Regions from separate parts of the Homo sapiens genome. Here region 2 is linked to region 1. Evidence: promoter capture Hi-C in 16 types of primary human blood cells and fetal thymus (Javierre and others, 2016). All regions are on one chromosome and are shown on one strand. Each heading gives the region's core, a stretch centred on a gene start or on the middle of the fragment in contact. The rest is flanking DNA. Distances are from core to core; before and after follow the strand shown. Region 1 holds the start of MORC4 (MORC family CW-type zinc finger 4). Region 2 overlaps VSIG1 (V-set and immunoglobulin domain containing 1).

Region 1 (5,996 bases), core at 2,196-4,695:
TTGGAGTTAGAATGACCCTTCCCAATTGTCCCAAATTGGGTTGAGACAGTCAGGTCTTTATACCCCCTCTTTGGTCAGTTACTGTAGGCTGTCCCAGAAAAGTCTGTGACCTTGGGTAAGGCAGAGATTACCTGAAGCAATCCCTGAAGGGCTAACAGCTGAAGGCAGTCTGTCAACATTTCTCCCAGCAGCTCAGCCAACAAGTCTTTTATTGAAATGAGAGGTGGGCTGACGCATCACAGTATCCATCACAGGCATCATCTCTTTACATTAAAAATTGCCAATTAAAAGTAAAGAGTTAAGCATTTATCATGTCCTTCCTATATAAATTGTATTTCAGATTAGCCAAATAGCCATGGTTGATGAAGGTAAGTTCTATACAGAATGATCCAGTTAATAAATTAGAAGAAATTATGAGATTGACTATCATAATTTTGCAGTCCTAATAACATATTTTTTTCAGACAATGAAACCATGAAGTAAAAGGATGGTGGAGAAATTTATAGTGGAAGCTTCAGGCTGCCTCTCCCTGAAGTCACCAATGAATCTGAACATGTCTAAGTGTTGCACAGTATGTATTCCCTGATGTGATGCAATGGGAACTATACAGCACCATCTATGAGCATTCCTATTTAGAAAACATTGTACTAGACTCTAAGACTCTAGAGACAATTTATGGTTTATAGTTAAGTTACACTTTTTCCTGTAACAAGAGGAGCAAGTTAAGTAACATGAAGAAGCAAACAGACAAATGAAAATGTAGGGCATTCAACAGTCCAACTGTCTTGGTTTCTTCAACAACTCAAGGGGTTGGGCATGATGGCTCACACGTGTAATCCCAGCACTTTGGGAGGCCGAGGTGGGAGGATCACTTGAGCCCAGGAGTCCAAGAGCAGCCTGGGCAACATGGGGAGAACCCATCTCTACAAAAAAAAAAAAAAAAAAAATCAATAACATGAATAAAAAAAAAAGAGAGGGGAGACTTTTAGATTGAAATGGATTTAAGACACATAACCACGTGCAATGTGTGCACTTGGAGTCTAGATTTAAACAAACCAACTGTAAGCAGACATTTCCGAGACAATTGGGGGAAATCTGAATATGGACTGGGCCAAGCAAAGTGGCTTGCGCCTGTAATCCCAGCACTTTGGGAGGCCAAATCAGGTAGATTGCATGAGCCCAGGAGCTTGAGACCAGCCTGGGCAACGTGGCAAAACCTCGTCTCTAGAAAATATAAAAAGTAAAAAAATGACCTGGGTGTGATGGCATGTGCCTGTAGCCCCAGCTACTCAGGAAGCTGAGTTGGGAGGATTGCTTGGTCCCAGGAGGTCAAGGCTGCAGTGAGCCAAGATCGTACCACTGCACTAAAGCCTGGGTGACACAGCAAGGCCCTGTCTCAAAAAAAAAAAAAAAAAAAAAAAAGTCTGGGTATTAGAAGACAACAAAGAATTAGTATAAATTTTGTTTGGTATAAAAGTGGCATGGTGGTTATGTTTGTTAGAAAATGTCCATGTTTCTAAAGAACACTGAAGTATGTAAAATAAAATGGCATGATGTTTGAGATTTGCCCTGAAATGCTCACAGCTTACAGAAATGGAAAAAAAAAAAAAAGAAAAGAAAAAGAAAAAGAAGAAAAGGGATATAGAAAACAAGTGCCTTAGTCAGATCTGGCTGCTGTTAACAAAGTACCATAGACTAGGTTGCGTATTAACAGCAGATGATCAGGTTCTGGTACGGTCTCTCTTCTGGGTTGCAGAATTCAGACCCTTTCTTGAGTCCTCATGGAAGAAAGAGGATGAGAGAGCTTTCTGGGGTCCTTTTTATGAGGCACTAATCCCATCATGAGGGTTCCACCCTTATGACCTAATTACTTGGCAAAGGCCCCAACTCCTAATCCCAATACCTAATACCATCATATTGGGAGTTAGGATTTCAACATACAAATTTTGGCGGGGCACAAATGTTCAGTCCATTGCAGCAGGTGTGGCAGTCTTGATAATTACTGCATCTGAGTAATAAGTACATGGGATTCATTATATTGTTTTCTGTACTTTTGTGTATTTTAAAAAATTGAAGAAAAGATAACTAAAAAACAGACAAATGTAAAGCACCCAATGGGGGTAAAAAATGATGCTCAAAGGACATAAACAGGCATTTGTAGAAGAGGAGATGCAAATGTATACTAAACATTTGAAAAGATATTCAGCCTTACTGGTAGTCAGGAAAATGCAAATTAAAACAATAAGGAGATACTATTTTTTATTGAAAAGACTATCAAAAAGTTAAAAGATTGGGACCATCTAGTGCTATGAACATGACAAAAGAGCACTGATTGTTGCTGGGAGGGCAAATTGCCTATCTTACAGTATTTATTAAGATTAAACCATGCACATGCTATTAGATGCAGCAGTCTCATCTTTTGGAATTCATTCTGTGGAGATAACAGTATCAGAAATTAATGACCTGTACACGAGTGTGTGAAGGAGCATTTTTTGTATTGTCAAAATTAAAAAAAGAGGACAACCTAAATTACCATAAAGGAATGGTCAAATAAATTATAGTTCATTCATGCCATAGAACATTACATATGTTTTTAATGAATCTGTTTTTCTATTATCAGTGTATATTTATAGTATATTAGAAAACACAGGTAAGAAAAAAGGAAAAAGTGTCTAGTTCCAGACCCAGAGATATCATCTTGGTGTATATCAAGTGGTTTTCGTTGTGTGTGTGTGTGTGTATATATATATGTATGTATGTATGTGTATATGTGTGTATGCATGCATATATATATATGTATATATGTATACATATATATTTGTTTTTCCAATAGAAAAGGCATCATGCGTTCCACAATATGTTGTAACTCCTTGTTTTCTTCATTCCTTCATGAATATTTTTCTACATCAACACATACTTATCTACAAACATGGCCTTCAAGAACTGGATGGTATTTCATTTTATGCATACTTCATAACTCGACCAATCCCCTACTTGGCGGTATTTAAGTGAATCCAATTTCTCCTTTTAGAAACACCGTCCCTGCATGCTAGCAAGACTTTGGAGATAGTTTGCTAATTGCCTTCCAGAAAGTTCTGGGTGCTTCTGGAGGCATTTGAGGCAGAGTAGGTAGAATGTTTTCCCATCAGGCGAGCTTGCTATCTTCCCAGATAGCAACACTGTAGTCTTTAGAACTTGAAAGACTTGTCTTATCTTGCCTGTTAGTCATGCAGCCTAAGCGGGACTAGGTTCCAGAAATCCCATACATGCTCTCCCTCCTCTTGCTTCATTCACGCCCCTCCCCACGCGCCACCCCCGCCCCCCGCGCTTTCCCGCTCGGCGGCCTGGCCTATGGCATACGCCAATAATTAATTAGGGGCGGGGATCAAGGAGCGGCTGTCAGGAGGTCGCCATATTTCTGTACGGCCCAGAGGCAGCCCGGGCAGTCGCCGGGTCGGTAGAGGTGCTGACAGGGCGGAGCCGCCGCTTGCCTCAGCCGGCCTCACCCCTCCCGCCCGGGACAGGTGGCTGGAGCGCGCTCCGCCTCCGCCAGCTGCGAGTGGGAGCGAGGGAGGGCCGGTCCCGGACGGTCGCCGCCAGCTGCGAGTGGAAGTGAGCGAGGGCTAGTCCCGGACCGCCGGGCCAGGGGTCCGGCGGCAGCAGACGGGTACCGTGGCGGCCAAAAAAATGCTCCTGTACCGAGGGGCCCCCGCCGGCCCTGGCGCGCCGGGCTGCGGGCTGGCCCGGCCCGGCGGCGGCCCGCAGGCCTTCGGGATCCGCCTGAGCACGGTAGGTCCGGGGCCCGAGGGGGCGGACGCGCGCGCGGGCCCCTGGGCTGCGGGGGGCGCGCGGGGAGGGCCCGGCGGGCCGAGGCCTCACGCGGGTCGGGACCTTCTCTCGCCCCCAGATGAGCCCCCGCTACCTCCAGAGCAACTCCAGCAGCCACACGCGACCCTTCAGTGCCATCGCGGAGCTGCTAGGTGAGTGGCGAGGGCGGGCCCGGCCGTGTTCGCCCGAGGCAGTGGTGCCAGCGTGGTGCCGCGGACGCGAGAGGAATGCGCAGAGCCGCGCGGGGCGGGCCGGGGCTGGGGTGGGGGCCTCGGAACCGGCCCCGGCTCCGCAGGCGGAGGAGGGGGATGGCTCTCTCGCCAGGAACTAGGTTCCGCTCATAAAACGGAGGAAACGAGGTGTGTCTGAAGCGTTAAAGACACCAGTGTGGTTTTTCTCTCGCGCTCGTGACGTTCGGGCACTTTAGGATAGCTTAGTTAGTAATCAAAAGGAGATGCATAAAAACCTCGGGCCCTGAGGCAGCTGGGTCCGCAGGGGCTGGCGACCGACGGAGGATGCCTAGCTAGCAAAGGGGCGTAGAGGACCGAGGCGGGTCCTGGGGAAAGGTCTGGAAAGCGGAGTTCCTTAACTTTTGAGACAAGAAAAGTTAGGAATGATGGGACATCTCTTAAGAGATGACACGAGTGCATTTGGCTCCCTGCTACTGCGGAGGGCTGGGTCCGTGGTCCACGAGCGCCCTCACACCGCTGGAATGAATATTGAGGACTTAACCTCTCGCTCCACCGGTGTTTGCTTTTAAAGTGTTTTCAGTTGATCCCTTCAAGCCAATTACACCAGTTTTTGCAGTAGTGTGCTACTGTGTGGAAAGCAAAGAAGAAACGCAGTCCTGCACAAAACGCAGCAGCATACAGGGCGCATTATACATGCTTTGAAAATCGAAAGAAGGAAGAAGTGTTTATGGGCAAGGTTGCACAGAACAAACTCTTGAAAATGTTTTCAAAGCTCCCCAAATGAACCCCGGTCTCTACTTAAGCAGTCGCTGTGGCCATGCCATGAGAGTTATCTTGGGTAAGAAGTCAATGGGTAGCAGGGGACTTACTTGGAAGGGTGATAAGAATGATAGAGACCTTTGATGATTAACCATAACACGGAATGCTTTACAATATGTGTAATTTAATTAGAAGGTGAAAGGCAAAAAGTGGAATTGATACGTTTGGAACCCTAGAGCAGAGGGACTGTATCTTTGAGGTTTGGTACTGTGCCTTGGGGCTGTGCACTGAACCTCTGCAGAATGGAATACAATCCAAGTTAAGTATGTAATTTACAAGAAAGACTACAAGGGAGCAAAAAGTAGTGATTTACATAGTGGGGGATGGGAAAGCGAAATGTATTGTTCTCTCATGGTTGGCACGGTGCAGAACGTGATATACCTGTGCTGTGCTTACTGTACTTTCCAGGTGATTTAATGAGTTTCCAATTTGTAATTTTGGATATTTGTGATTTTGGCCATAAGCATTACCTTAAAGAACCTAAGCCGGATCTAAGACGTCCAGTATGAGCGCGAGTATGTGTATGTATTATGCACACACATGCATGCATACATGTATACAAACATAGATTTTAAGACCAAATAACAACTATTTGTGAAAATATTAATAATAGGGAAAAGAGAGAGCAAAGTGTTAACTGGCAATCCAAAGCTTTCATTTTAGGTTTTCCTTCAATCATTTTCTCCACTTAAGCATTAATTTTCTAGTGAATCATTCATTTGGTAAATATTTATTGAGCACCCACTGTGCGCAAGGCCACTGTGGTAGGCACAAAAATGAATACAACACAGATTCACTCTTCTAGTAGGGGAGATAAAACATGTACAGAAGGTTTATGCTTTGTCTAACAACAAAATGGAAATCGATATATAAACAAAGATAAAAACAAGTGCTGTGGGAGTTCAGAGGAAGGAGGAATGGCTTCCAGTTTATCAGGAAGAGGAAGGTTAGGAAAGGCTTTGTGGAGGAGGTGACATTTAAGCTGAGATTTGAAGGATTGGGACATGTGGATATGGGCGGGGAGGAATTCCAGGCAAAAGGAACAACTGCTTGAACAAAGGCATGAAGAATATTGAGTGGAGTTTAATTAGAGCATGGGGTTCACAAATAGTAAAAACGATAGGTACTTAAAAAGTTTACAAGCAGCTTTCACAAATA
Region 2 (5,996 bases), core at 2,556-5,055, 1.1 Mb before region 1:
CATATAAGATTGGTATCGCTTTATTAATGTGGAATGTACAGGCAGTAAAACAGGTTATTTAATTAGTTGAAATTATCTAAAATAGATCTTAAGAGTTCACTTAGAACACTTTTCTGGACTGCCTTTCAAAGTAGATAACATCAGACACAGTGATAACATAATAACTCATTCAAAACTAAATTGTACATCACCTATGATATCAACATTTTGTATTCACTGAAGGAAATTATATTTGAAAGTGTTTGCCTGTACATTATTTGACAAAGTTGTGGGGATTTTTTGTTTTTTGTTTGTTTGTTTTCTGTTTTTGTTTTTGTTTTTCAGATGGAATCTCACTCTGTCACCCAGGTTGGAGTGCAGTGGCACAATCTCGGCTCACTGCAACCTCCACCTCCTGGGTTCAAGCGATTCTCCTGCCTCAGCCTCCCAAGTAGCTGGGATTACAGGCATGCACTACCACGCCCAGCTAATTTTTGTATTTTTAGTAGAGAAGGGGTTTCGCCATGTTGGCCAGGCTGGTCTCGAACTCCTGACCTCAGGTGATCCACCTGCCTCGGCCTCCCAAAGTGCTAGGGTTACAGGCAAGAAATTGTGTTATTTTTTAAATTTGCCATGCTCAGATATTGGATACCAGGGTGATTTCTTGGGAAATCTAATATGAGGAATGAAGCATTAATTATAAGACCTGATTTTAAATGCTACGTACCAATTAATGTATACCCTTTACATATTCTCCTCTATTGTATTTGGAGAAAATTTTCCAATCTATGAGATAATGCTGATGAATTATTTTCTTAGTGGTCAATATAAAAATGAATGAGGAACTATTCCTAGAAATAATATTGAATCTAATTAATGCCACCTTGTCATATGTGCATGTGGAACATAAGAGTAGCTAAAAAGAGGCCGGGCGCAGTGGCTCATGCCTGTAATCCCAGCATTTTGGGAGGCCAAGGTGGGCGGATCATGAGGTCAGGAGATGGAGACCATCCTGGCTAACAACGTGAAACCCCATCTCTACTAAAAATACAAAAAATTAGCCGGGCGTGGTGGCACGTGCCTGTAGTCCCAGCTACTCAGGAGGCTCAGGCAGGAGAATCGCTTGAACCCAGGGAGCGGAGGTTGCAGTGAGCCGAGATCGCACCACTACGATCACAGCCTGCGCGACGGAGCAAGACTCTGTCTAAAATAAAAAAAAAGAGTAGTTAAAAAGAGAGAAATAATATTTTCTGAAATAACAACACAGGTACTGTTGCAAAACTCAACTAAGTTAGAAATCACTTGCCCTGTCATTTGTTATGCTTACGTGTTAGTAAAATTGTTAGTATTCTATATTGGTAATACAGGAACCCTTGCTGATTTAGCTGTTATCTTGGCGTGTTTATTCTGGATTCATAGTAGGAATGAGCACCTTGTTAGAAGAAGGTTGGTCAAAATGGAAGGAGGAGGTGGAGGTTGGTTAGGTTATTTGAATTCCAAATGGCAGTAATGGGTTCCTTAATGATTAATGCTGTACTTAGGCCACCAGCCTATGCCTTAACCACTCCCTTTTCATCTTCACTTAAGGGCTCAACTACAACCCCAGGCTCTGACTCTGGCTCTGGCTCTGGCTCTGGCTCCAATTCCGACTGCGTTTCTGGCTCCAGCTCCAGCTCGATGTCAAGGTCAGGCACTGCCATAGGCTCTGATCCTGGGGCAGGCTCTGGGGCAGGCTCCTGAGTAGGCTTTGGCTCATAGTCTGGTTCTTGGATGGTATCAGGGCCAGTCTCATGAATGGAAGATGGTAGAGTTACTTCTAGTTGGGTAGCGTCTTCTCTTGGCATTGCTTCGCTTTCTCCCCTTGGGTTTATCTTTGTCATTGGCCTGCAAGAAAGAAGGCCCAGAAAAGAACAAGTTAGGGAGATGCTAACTTTGAAATTTCATGTGAAACCATATGTTCTGTAGCTTCAATGACCATAGGTCCCAGACTTCAGGAAATCTGTTATTTCTGATATTCTGACTCATTGTCAGGCCATAGGTCATTTTGGATTCAGAAAGGTTAGGTCTCAACAATATCATGAAAGTTTAAGAAAGAGCAGTGTTTCAAGGTGGGAAAATAATGTCAGAATGAAAGAGTCTAAGAATCTAATAAGGTCTTTAAGGTCCAAATTCATAGCTCTGATGTATCGCTATTTCTCACTCCATCTAGTACAATACTTGGCACCTGGTTGATACCCAATAGATAGTTGTAGAAGCAAGGAGATGAAAAAAAATGAATGAGTGAGATACACACTAGGAAAGAAATAGAGTGATTAAGAGCATGAGCTGTGGGCTGGGCCACATTCTAACTTCTGTGTTCCCTGGGCACTGTCCTTGTGGGTCTCTTGTTCCATAAAAAAATTTAAAATTATATTTCATGACTATGTTGGTATTAAGACAAGTATGTTAGTATTATATATGAAAATGTTTTCTTGGACCTAAAACTGTTGTGATAGCTAAATGAGTTGATGTACATAAAGTGCTTAGAACAGAGCCTGGCACACAGCACTCAATAAATAGCAGCCATCATCATTCTTTTTTAAATTCAATGAGAGTAAACAGAAAGATACCTCTGATATCTTATACTAAAAGGAGTGCTTAGGAATTGATGACTGAAAAAGACATGCCTGAGAAATGTTTGTATTCAAGTAAAGACAACAAAATGAAGGCTTACTCAAGTTCCGCGATGGTCTTAGAATTTCTTTCTTTTGCCTTTGCTTTTGCCTTATTCCTTGCGAAGCACACAACAGAGATGATGATGGCGGCACCTACCAGGCTACCAATCAAGGCCCCAACAATGATTCCAACTTCTGGATCTGAAGGATACAAGCAGCTGGTTAATAAAGTGGAATATATTGTCATTTTATAATGTGTGTTTGTGACTAGTGGGGAATATCAGGGCCATTCACATAGTGGGAAAATGACTTGTATAGGCTAGGGAAATGGAAACCCCTAGAACTCTGTCATTTGGACTCACAGTGGGAGAAGACTATTGACATTTGTGCACATAAAGAATAAAATGTGGCCAACTTGGAGGAGGTGGGGTTGCTTTTGAAATGGGATTTAGAGAAAAGAGTCTTGAGACACCATGGAGTTGTGATCTGGTCACTAGAGATAAGCCTCTGTTACAGGCAGGAACATTTCACTAGGCTTTCCCAGAGCACAGGTGAAATTGGTCCCTAAAAACCTCCCCCATGGCGTCAATGCTTACGAAGGAACCTCATGCACTCTGGTCACTGGGAAGTGATATGCCCATTTTGATAAACAGGCATCTGGTTTATTGTCTCGGTCTATGGACAAACTTAATGAGTGGGACATTATCCAGCTGAGCACCAGACCTTCAAGCCCTGAGGTGTTGTCTCTGGAAGACCACATCTGGGTTATAAGCCAACCCAACCCCATCTGCCTCCCCTCACACAAGGATGGACACCTTATATTTTGAGCTGCCTGATAATAATTCCTTTAACTTTTTATGATTAAGAGAATATAAGTAAATAGTTTAAAAAGTCAAATAGTTCTACTACATGTCTCACAAAAACAGCAGTTCCCTGCCCGACTCCTTCCCGTTTCTGAGTCCCATTCACGAAAGGCAACCACTCTTAACTCTTTTTAAAAGTCTTCTTGCCCCCATGTTTTTATTATGTTTGCTCTGATATGTCCTACCTTTTTTCCATTCCATCATTTTCTTTCAACTTCGTACCCTAGAAGTTGGAGATTGAGCTCTTTTACACCACTCCCCTCACACCCACCATGTTCTTCCAAAATAGTTATATCACAAGTTTTAGTTAAATCCAAGTTTGCAGTAGTATGGCTATATAAATATTGTTCACAGCTGAGGAACACAGTATACTATGATTCTTTCTTGTACAACATTTACAAAAATTTTCCCGGAGGTTAATAATTGCTTCATTTGGGGATTAATAAATGCATTATCACTCATCCCGAAATTTCCAACAAAACCATTAAACTTCTTTCAATTGATTCAAACATATCAGATGATATATCAGTTTCTTGTGATTTTTCCCTCAGAGACATGCCATGTGAAGCCCTCCATTCTCTTCCCCCATCATGACCTGGTTGCTCTCCTAAGCCTGCTGCTCTACCGTCATGCTTCAGCTTTCCCATTTTATAGATGATGAGGCTTTGCAAGTTCCTTCAAGATCCTGCTCAAATAGCACTTTGTTGGTAAAGCCATCCCAGTTCTATAAGCATAATTTTCCTCCCTTGGTGCTCTATAGACCCTGTTCAGACTTCTATTATAGGATTTAGCATGTTTTAGTTGTGTTTGTCCCTCTAGCTGAACTGTGAGCTCCTTGAGTATAGGACATACATCTTCTTTATCTCTGTATCTTTATCACCTAGGACAGTCCCTGGAACACAGTAGATATTCAATAAATATTTGAGGAAGGAAGGAAGAAAGAAGGGATGTGGGAGGGAGAGAGGAAGGCAGTGCTGGACATCATTGGAAAAAAGACTAGAAAGGAAGCAATGCTCAAGTCCAAATCCTACATATCTCTACATCTGCAGTATGATTGTACCTCTGAGAAGGCAAAAAGATATTGAGGGAATTCTAAAGAAAGATAACAGAAATGATGCAGGAAATATAGCTGAAAGTGATATGAGAATAAAGGAGCAAACTTCAGGAGAAATAAAAGGAAGAAAGTTCAGGTGCATAGGAAGAGCAAAAACCCACTGGAACTTGCCATCCCTGGATATGGCATATATTAAAATCACAAATTCAAAGTAAGTTTGAAAAAAGATCCTAAGTGTTATTAAGTGATCCTTGAGATGTTTGGTGAGATATTCCTTGTGAGGAGTTGCCCCTGGGTCAGCTCAATTGGACAATTCCAGGAGTCTTAAATCTTACACTCAGAGAGTGAGTAAGCACCTTCGAATAGGAAAATTGAGGTTTAGAGGCATCCTGGCTCTGCCAGTTACTAACTGGATGACCTTGGGCAAGTCATTTACTTCCCTGAGCTTCAGTGTTCTTTTCAGCAAAATGAGGCCGACAATAGTCTGCCTCCCTAGATAGGGGTGGTTGGGAGGAAAGAGTGAGATAATACTCAGCATAATTCATGCTCCACAAATAGTAGCTACCGTGATTGTGGGTACGAGTGTTATTATTATAATACTATTATTATTAGTGGCAGATCTTTGCAAGGTATATGTTTGTCAGAGCTACAGTGTCACCTGGATTTACCAACAGCATCACAAAGAGAAATTCAGCCTGCTGTTATCAGAAAGGCTTCTTTTTTAGTATTGAATAGTAATACCTACCTTCTAGCGATTTTGTGAAGCAAACAAATTGCTTTTTGTAAAGGATTTAGGGCAGCATATGGCATATATTATTATGTGAGCATTAGATATTAGGATGGTCATTCATCATATCAGCCTGTATATAAAGCACACAAATCTCCAGAGAAGCAGGAAGCACTAACTGGGGATCCTAACTAATTTATTTGTCTGACAGGCCCAGACTACTTGATTTAAGGAGAAACCGTTAAAGTTGTATGGTCAACTCACGTGAAGAAGTGAGATCGATTTCGCAGGAACTATTGCCAAGTCTGTTGATGGCAGTACACTGGTAATAACCTTGTTCAAAATTTGTCAGATTTCCAATGACCAAAATCCCGGTGGTTGGGTCTGTTGAAACCAGGGAATAGACTTTTGAGATCTCTTCTGTGCATACAGATAACATCAGTGTAACAGATCACTCAATGTCCACCCACTCCCCCATATTGGCCTCTCTTTCTTGAGATGTTCAGGATTCAACTAGGCCCCTCAGGACTGTTCCAGTGCTAACTCACCTGGGACCATGCCTGTTCCCTACATATTCACCATCTCTGAGCTGGCTTTTAGAATTTGGGGAGTAGACCAGAACACAATCATCGTGTTGGGAGACAGGCATTCTTTTTACATTACCAGCCGCCCCCCTCCACCCGCCACCACTGAGAAAACAAGAAGATTGAACTGTAAGG

The links. The method cuts DNA at HindIII sites, captures the fragments that hold promoters and counts their contacts. A CHiCAGO score of 5 or more calls a contact.
Region 2: a contact is called between a fragment that was not itself captured here and the fragment with the promoter of MORC4 in region 1, in 1 of 17 cell types (naive CD4 T cells). The highest score is 7.2, in naive CD4 T cells.

Annotation. Positions count from the first base shown.
Region 1 is chrX:106,997,661-107,003,656 of GRCh38, reverse strand. It overlaps MORC4 (MORC family CW-type zinc finger 4), which reads left to right and starts at 3,445. Exons shown (of 17, transcript NM_024657.5): 1 at 3,445-3,789; 2 at 3,908-3,980. The coding sequence starts at 3,688. RefSeq lists silencers at 3,381-3,460, 3,471-3,680. The HindIII fragment of the contact is 4,977 bases long and covers 515-5,491 here.
Region 2 is chrX:108,072,915-108,078,910 of GRCh38, reverse strand. VSIG1 (V-set and immunoglobulin domain containing 1) reads right to left here. Exons shown (of 7, transcript NM_182607.5): 5 at 5,542-5,661; 6 at 2,693-2,834; 7 at 1-1,863. The coding sequence ends at 1,530. Among named protein-coding and RNA genes, the nearest start is that of PSMD10, 16 kb to the left of the region's middle. The HindIII fragment of the contact is 7,715 bases long and covers 1-5,996 here.